Regions from separate parts of the Homo sapiens genome. Here all the other regions are linked to region 1. The links are contacts of gene promoters, found by promoter capture Hi-C in human tissues and cell types (Jung and others, 2019). All regions are on one chromosome and are shown on one strand. Each heading gives the region's core, a stretch centred on a gene start or on the middle of the fragment in contact. The rest is flanking DNA. Distances are from core to core; before and after follow the strand shown.

Region 1 (2,591 bases), core at 61-2,560:
GTCGGCGCCCGGGCTCCCTTCCCTACTGGCAGGAGTGGGGGTGCACGGAAGGAGGGTACCAGGAGAGCCACAGGTTCCCACTGGCCACATGGGAACAGGGTTTGGAGAAGGCTCTGCACAGCCACAGTCGGAGCTTCGTGCTAGGGTCAGACCGCTCTCGCCATGGGATCGGTTTGCTCACCGAGAAACTTCACCGAGAACTGCAAATGGGCATAGAAGATTGCGGAGGGGGCAGGGACAGGGGCCTTGGAGAGGCAAGAGGGGAACCGGTATCTTCCATCTGGTGCGCGTAAACCAAGACTCTATCCTGTGCCGGGTCTCTCCTCCCCGGTCCAACTCCCTTACTTGTCCTCATCTCTGTCCCCAAGGTCCGTGACCCGCGGAGGTGATGGGGGGGATAGGAGAGCCCCAGGGACCGCAGAGGTGACACAATCGCCCGCCCGTCCTCCCTCGCTGGGAGCCGATTCAGCCTGTGCCGAGCCTCTCCCTTCGCGCGCCTCTGCGCACAGCGGTGGCACCGCAGGACTCCGGGTCCCCCCCGGCTCTCCATCGGGAAGCCGGCAAATGCGCTTCCTCAGGCAGACCGCGGCGGGGTGGGGGCGGGGGGGGGGCGGAAGTTGAAATACTGGGACAGAAACACCTGCCCGTCCCAAGGGACGGAAAACTGGATGCCAAGGGGGCCGCGGCGCGCAGCGGGAGGCGAGGGGAGACCGGGGGTCGCTGCGCACCGCCCGCAGCCGAGGGGCGAGCGGCGACCTCGCGCGCCCCAGCGCGGCCTGGCCACGGAGGCCGGGGCGCAGGGGGCGCCGGCGGGACTTACCCCAGAGCAGAGTGAGTGGCTTGGCTTTGGGGATGAGCACCAGGGAGTACACGGCCCCCAAGTGGAGCAAGCTCATCAGGACGACATTCCTCCAGACGATGTTCTGCCGCTGCCCGCGCGCGCCTGGCCTCTCCGGGCCGCCGCCGCCCTCAGAGCTTTCGAGCCCGGCACGGATTTCTTCCTTGGCGTCGCAGAAAGGGATCTTCCCCGCGTCGGTGGCCGGGCCTGGCATGGCTGGGCGAGGTGGGCGCCCGCAGCAGCGGCAGGCAGGCAGGCGCTCTGCCCGAGCGGAGCTCGAGGGTGGGGGCGGGGGCTTCTGCCTTTTAGGGGGGAATTCTCCGCACGTCCAGTCCCCTCCTTCCAGCCCTTCTCCCGGGCTCCTGCGCTCTTCCCCAGGGTCTTAGCGTGGCCTAGGGATGCAGATCTTGGCGGCCGGCGTCTGTTGCTGGCGTATCCCCCATATGGCTGCCCGGGCTGAACTCGGCCGCGAGAAAGAGGAGGCGCGCGCGGGGCGGGAGGGGCGCGCGGCCGGGGAGGAGGAGCTGTGAAAATGGAACGGGGCCGGCGACGCTGGAGGGAGCGCTCCGAAGGAGCGCGGAAGAAAGCCCTGCTTAGCTACAGCCAATCAGGAGCGCCCGTGCGGCGCTTATAGACAAAGGCGCCCCCCTTTCGGCTTTTCGGGGCCGAACTGGGGAGCCCGCTGGGCGGGAGTTGGCCGCCTCCGCCCGGGGGCGGGTGGAAGGTGGCTCCCGGGGCAGGGAGCCTGCAGGGCGGCTCACAGCGCTTCTGCTCTTGTGTGTGTGTGACCCCCAAAATGCCTTTTATGGTATTTTTCCAGTCCCCCCCCCAAAAAAAAACTTCCCGAAACTGTCATCCCTTTGAGAAGCCTTTTATTTCTTCTCAAGCCTCAGGCCACCTGGGTTGGAGAATTTTAAATACTTGCTTGGAGTCGCGACCCTAGTTAAGGCCAGACCCACGATGAGAATCAGAAGTCCCTCAATCTGCCAGTTAGTAGGGCTCCTCGGGCCAGGGGAGGGTTGGAAGGCAGCTGCTCGTTCTTAATTAGGCAGCTGTGGATTACCCAGGCACACAGTAAGTGCTCAGTTGGTGCTTGTGAGGTGATGCACAGATGATTTGGGCCAGTTCGCTGCCCACCCTTTGCCCATCCGCCGCGCCACTCTGTTTATGGTCAATTCTAGCTAATCAGCGCACTTCTGCAACGCCTCCTTAGCTCTCAGTGAGGAACACTACCCTGAAATCAACACCATTGAGAATCGGGCTTTACAAAAAAATCACCCAGAATGTTCCAAGGAAAATTAACCTGTGAAAGATTTGTGTCTGCCCACTTCTCTCCTAGAGCTGATGGCTTAAGAGCTCTCCAGAGAGGACCCTAGTTGCACAGAAAATGGAGGGAGGATTGAGCTGGAAGTGTCTGAAGCAGGTGTGACCGCAATTGCGGGCAGGCAGCAGAAGTAAAAGGGCTCGGGACAGCATCTCTGAGTTCTAGTTTTAACTGGCTGGAACCCAGCCCAACTCTCTGGGCACGGATTTCCTTACCTGAGAAGCAGAACTAGTTTCTACTCTTCCTTCCAGCTTCCATATTCCATGAATGTGAGTTCGAAGGGGCGCCATTATATTGACCAAAACCAGCTGATTTTTAGATTAACCGTTGTTAGGAATCATTTCCAGGATTTCAAGAGAGGCAAAAAAATTTAAAAGACTGACTGCATGAAAGGGCCATGCATAAGCATCTTATTGTTAGCAGACCTGA
Region 2 (2,591 bases), core at 1-2,500, 480 kb after region 1:
AAATTTAAGTCAGTTAACTGTTTTCATTTGTTTAAACATCACATACCAAAGAAATAAAGAACACTATAAGTCAAAAAAACAAATGACAAAACTGAGAAAATAAATTTGCAACTCAAATCACAAAGGACCCCTTACTACGCAGAGTGCCTAGAAGAAAGAGATCAACAGTCCAATTAAAAAAGACAAAACATAATAAAAATTCACATAAAAAGAAATACAAATGGCTCTTATACATATGAAAAGATACTCAACTTTGAGAAACACATATGAAAACTAAATTGAGATAAAAATTTTCACCTATCACTGGCAAAACCCTACATCTGACAACACACTCTAGGGAGTTGAATACTCTTATGTATTTCTAATGAGGTTACAAAATGGCCCTACCTTTGTGAAGGACAACTTAAAAATTGTTTATTGTGTGTTTATATGTGTATATAAATATATATATATATACGTACCTACATATAAAACATTCATGCGTCAATGTTAATATGCTCAAAGACTGTCAGGAAGAACACACTAGAAACATATAATAATGGTTGCTTCTGAGTAGGGGAACTGCATGGACAGGAGACAGGAGTAAGAGACTTGCCTTTCACTCTATACCCTGGCACCTTCTGAATATTGTATCATATACACACATTACCTACTCAAAAAAGTTAGCAAAATTTCCTTTACCATTGTTAGTACAATACACTTAGACGGTCTAGTCTTTTTTTTTTTTTTTTTTGAGACAGCATCTCACTCTGTCACCCAAGCTGGCGTACAATGGCATAATCGTAGCTCACTGTGGCTTCAAACTCCTGAGCTCAAGTGATCCTCCTGCCTCCGCCTCCCCAGTAGCTGGAACTACAGGTGCAAGCCACCATGCCCAGGGAATTATGTTGCCCAGGCTAGTTGCAAACTCTTGGCCTCAAGTAATCGTCCCACCTTGGCCTCCCAAAGTGCTGGGATTTTAAGTGTTAGTTTTTTTGTTATTTTGAACTGAGTACTTTGCAGCTACATGTACAAATGGGGTTAGTTCTTAGTACTTAACCAATAAACTAGAGGAAATTAAGATAAAAGCAAATAGATTATATAAAAGACTTCAAATATGAACTTTAATATTCTACTTCTAAAAGAAAGTCTTTCAACTGATGTTTGGATATGCTGCCTATTAGATAAATTCTGAGCTTTCTTTCCCTATAGAGGGATACAAGAGAAAAGGGATTTGGGGCTAAAGAAAGTTCAGATCCTGAAGAAAAATGGTCAAATGACTAAAGTCCCTGTAATCATGTTTAAGCTTCACTAAGTTTAAGCTTTATTCATTTAGACATATTTATGAAGCATATACTCTGTGCCAGAACTATGCTAAGAACTGGGAATACAATGGTGGCTAAGAGAAAGGGGGCTTCTGCCTTCATGCAGCTCATAAATCAAAAGAAAGAAATACAGTTAAATAAGCAATAACAATAAAAGATCAATCCAACAACAGGACAAGCACAGGGTCCTGCAAAGGCATAAAACAAAACTATCTAAGTTAGTTAGCTAGTTTTAGGAGGAGGGAGAGAGGAATCAGAGGGTCTTTTCCAAAGGGGATCTAAATTTACACAACAGAGAAGTCAAGGAGAAGCCTCAAGCTAAAACCTTGAGAAATGGTCAGTCCAGACCTGAATTCAGGTTGTCCTGGACAGACTCATACTTGGTGCACTCCACAGTAACAATGGCTAATATTTACGGAGTGCTCACAAAGCATCAGGCAGTGTTCTAAATGCTTTATATGTCTAAACTTATTTAATCTTCAATGACATCTTTATATTAAACTTATTTATTTATATATTTACATTAGAGACAGGGTCTCGCTCTCTTGCCGAGGCTGGAGTGCAGTAACAAGGTCATAGTTCACTACAGCTTCTGACTTCCAGGCTCAAGCAATACTTCCACCTCAGCCTCCCAAGTAACATCTTTACATAGTAGGTACTGTTAATAACCCTATCTTACAGATGAGGAAACAGATAAACAGAGTGGTTTAAGTAAAACACAGTAGGTTTAACTACTTTCTTTACCCTGGAGCTATGAGTATAGTTCACAAGGGACAGAGGAGTAGCTGATCCTATCCTCCTAGGCTAGAGAAGAGAGAATACCACTTCACAGCTATTATTTCCTGGTACAATTAGAACAGAAGGTTCCACTAAAAAGAAAAAAATTCTAGACAGAAAGACGTGTAACCACTTATAGTGTTTTCTGTCAGGAACAAAACTTCCTTGGCCAAAAATCTGTATTAAAAGTACCGTATTCACTTACTGATAGGAATCTGTAGAGCTCCCCTACAGATGACAAGGGTTCCTACAGTGAAGGGGAAAGTAAGAAGACTTCTCAGTTCTATGTCTGCCACTTGTAAGTTGAGTGACACTAGACAGTAAAGTATCTTAAGGCTTAAGTCTTTGTTTCATCTGTAAATGAGGGAAGAGAACAGCTACCTCACAGAGTCGTTAAGAGATGACAATATTAATGATGTTATGACAACCGTAATAACAGATACATGGCACTTACTGTACCAGGTGGTTTCACAGAACACTTTTGACTCTCACAACAAGCCTATTCGATAG
Region 3 (2,591 bases), core at 46-2,545, 300 kb before region 1:
GGTTCCCACCATCTCTGGAGGACTATGCAGGGTCATGGACGCACTCACAGAGGGACAGAATATTACAGGAGGGTCTTGGGCCCCAAAGAAAAAGGAACTGGGGCTAGATATGAGTACTAAAGGTTTCTTCTTTTTAAGCTTACTTCTCCATTTGCCAGCTTACTATGTCTATAGGCACAGGAGAGAGTGTAATCCTAATGCTGATGTTGACCTTTAGGTTTAAAGACAGTATCTACACACATCAACAAATATCACAAAGCCCATGCATTTTTTTCATCTTTGCTAGTGAAGGAATAAATAAAGCATTCTTTTCAAAGCAAATGTATTATACAATATTACATTCTCATACAGGATTTTATATCATGAAATATATTATTTTATGCAGCAAAATAGATCAAGTCAAGAGTATCTGAAATGATAAAGATGGTAAAGGGAAGAGAAAATGTAAGGACAGCAGGGTGAACGTAAATGGATGTACGAGAGAAAAAGACCTTTAAGACAAAGAGCTGGCTTCAGCATATTGACATCGTATGATACTAAATGATCAAATAAGCCCCCCATTGTTTTGACAAGGGTTTGGGAGAATTTAAAATACAAAAGAAATGTACCAAAGCACATAAAGCGTTCTTTACCCTCTTCTTACCTAGGAAGGCTGCCATGTTCATAACTTGACTAAACACACAGCTTGCAGGAGGATCATCACCTGCAATGCTTGAAAAAGATGAAATGTTTTATAGTTACTATATCAAAATCTATAATCCTCCTAACTTTTCCTACGGTCCCACAGGACAGAAGAGAATTGCTGGGTTACCTTATATATGGTGCATGCTTCACACCAGGTTTCCTGGATAATAAAAAAAAAAAACACAGAAGCTCAGGTTAAAGCACTGTCATTTGTGCAGTTTAACCTTCCCAGTGGGAAAGTTTTTGCTAAATCTCTTGATGAACAACGAATTACCCACAGATAAACTTTACCTTTCAGCTGAATTTAATGGTAAAATTTTGTCATCTTCCACAGCTATGAAGTATCTATCAAAAAAGAATAAGTTTATAGAACAAAGAAATTGGAAAAAAGAATCATTTGTTTCCCAGTTTTATTAAACTAACTGCACTAATTCATATTCATTTTTTCTAACTGAGAAATGCTCTTTTACAATTCTTTACCCATAGATCATCTAGTTCTTTGAAGCTCAAATGTCATTATTAGTAATATTTCCTTAATTTTCAAAACATCCCCAAAGTAATGGCCATGCTTATAAACTGGAAACTAGAAAACAAGGAAATAGAACTTACAACTTTGAGCAAACTAAAATTAGGGTTCAGTTTCTAACTTCTCGGGAATATGTGTCCTACCTTTCCTAACAAACTTTGAGAAACTAAAATAATTTTCTTAAAGTGAATATTACCTAAAATAAGCAAGTGTGGGAACGTTCTGTGGTAAGCCAGGACTTCCAATGTAATGATATTCATTTTATAAACATATCAGGCCGGGCGCAGTGGCTCACGCCTGTAATCCCAGCACTTTGGGAGGCCGAGGCGGGCAGATCACGAGGTCAGGAGATCGAGACCATCCTGGCTAACATGGTGAAACCCCGACTCTACTAAAAATACAAAAAATTAACTGGGTGTGGTGGTGGGCGCCTGTAGTCCCATCTACTTGGGAGGCTGAGGCGGGAGAATGGCGTGAACCCAGGAGGCAGAGCTTGCAGTGAGCCAAGATCATGCCACTGCACTTCAGCCTGGCAACAGAGCAAGACTCCGTCTCAAAAAAAAAACAAAAACAAAAAACAAAAAACAAAAACATATCAGACCCAATCATGAATAACTGGACTATGAACTGGACTGCAGACGGAACCCATGGCATGTTAGTGTCAAATTCGAAAATCTTGCAAATAATTAATTCATATAACCTGTTTACAAAATGTTCATTACAACAAGAACACATGAACACAAAATAAACTAGTATTCTTCACCACCGGCTTTGCATAATTATTACTCACTCTTGTTACTTACTTTGGTTAATAGAAAATGGGAAAAGAAATGAGGACTTTAGCAAGGTTGAATTAGTAAAATATATTATTTTCAAGTATTTATAAATACAGTCATAAAGATATGCCATCTACTATTTTTTGGGGGGGTGGGGACAGTCTTGCTCTCTTGCCCAGTCTGGAGTGCAGTGGCGCAATCTCAGCTCAATGCAACCTCTGCCTCCAGGGTTCAAGCGATTCTTGTGCCTCAGCCCCCCGAGTAGCTGGGATTACAGGCGTGTGCCATCACACCCGGCTAACTTCTGTATTTTTAGTAGAGACAGGGTTTCCCCATGTTGGCAAGGGTCTCAAACTCCTGACCTCAAGTGATCTGCCTGACTCGGCCTCCCAAAGTGCTGAGATTACAGGCATGAGCCACCGTGCCCGGCTGCCATATACTATTAAGGTTTACATTTGTATCTACATTGCACCTGAATCCTTAAATAATTAAATGAGCAAATACTCACACTATCCACAATCCAGCTGAAGTAAACAAAGTAAATACAAGAGGTAGGAACATCCATACGCTGCATTTCTTCCCATCCATGCCTGTACCACTGAAAT

The links. The method cuts DNA at HindIII sites, captures the fragments that hold promoters and counts their contacts. A contact is called where the count stands out against the background at its distance.
Region 2: a contact is called between a fragment that was not itself captured here and the fragment with the promoter of SCD5 in region 1, in 1 of the 25 tissues and cell types used here (lymphoblastoid cells).
Region 3: a contact is called between a fragment that was not itself captured here and the fragment with the promoter of SCD5 in region 1, in 1 of the 25 tissues and cell types used here (dorsolateral prefrontal cortex).

The regions. Positions count from the first base shown.
Region 1 is chr4:82,797,486-82,800,076 of GRCh38, forward strand. It overlaps SCD5 (stearoyl-CoA desaturase 5), which reads right to left and starts at 1,311. Exons shown (of 5, transcript NM_001037582.3): 1 at 821-1,311. The coding sequence starts at 1,052. RefSeq lists enhancers at 1-58, 1,035-1,752, 1,753-2,469 and silencers at 867-916, 1,247-1,666. The HindIII fragment of the contact is 23,697 bases long and covers 1-2,591 here.
Region 2 is chr4:83,279,146-83,281,736 of GRCh38, forward strand. All of the region lies in intron 1 of COQ2 (coenzyme Q2, polyprenyltransferase), which reads right to left. Among named protein-coding and RNA genes, the nearest start is that of COQ2, 4.4 kb to the right of the region's middle. The HindIII fragment of the contact is 3,977 bases long and covers 1-2,591 here.
Region 3 is chr4:82,502,084-82,504,674 of GRCh38, forward strand. It overlaps TMEM150C (transmembrane protein 150C), which reads right to left. Exons shown (of 8, transcript NM_001080506.3): 2 at 2,495-2,584; 3 at 976-1,029; 4 at 812-844; 5 at 644-711. The coding sequence starts at 2,574. Among named protein-coding and RNA genes, the nearest start is that of TMEM150C, 59 kb to the right of the region's middle. The HindIII fragment of the contact is 8,691 bases long and covers 1-2,591 here.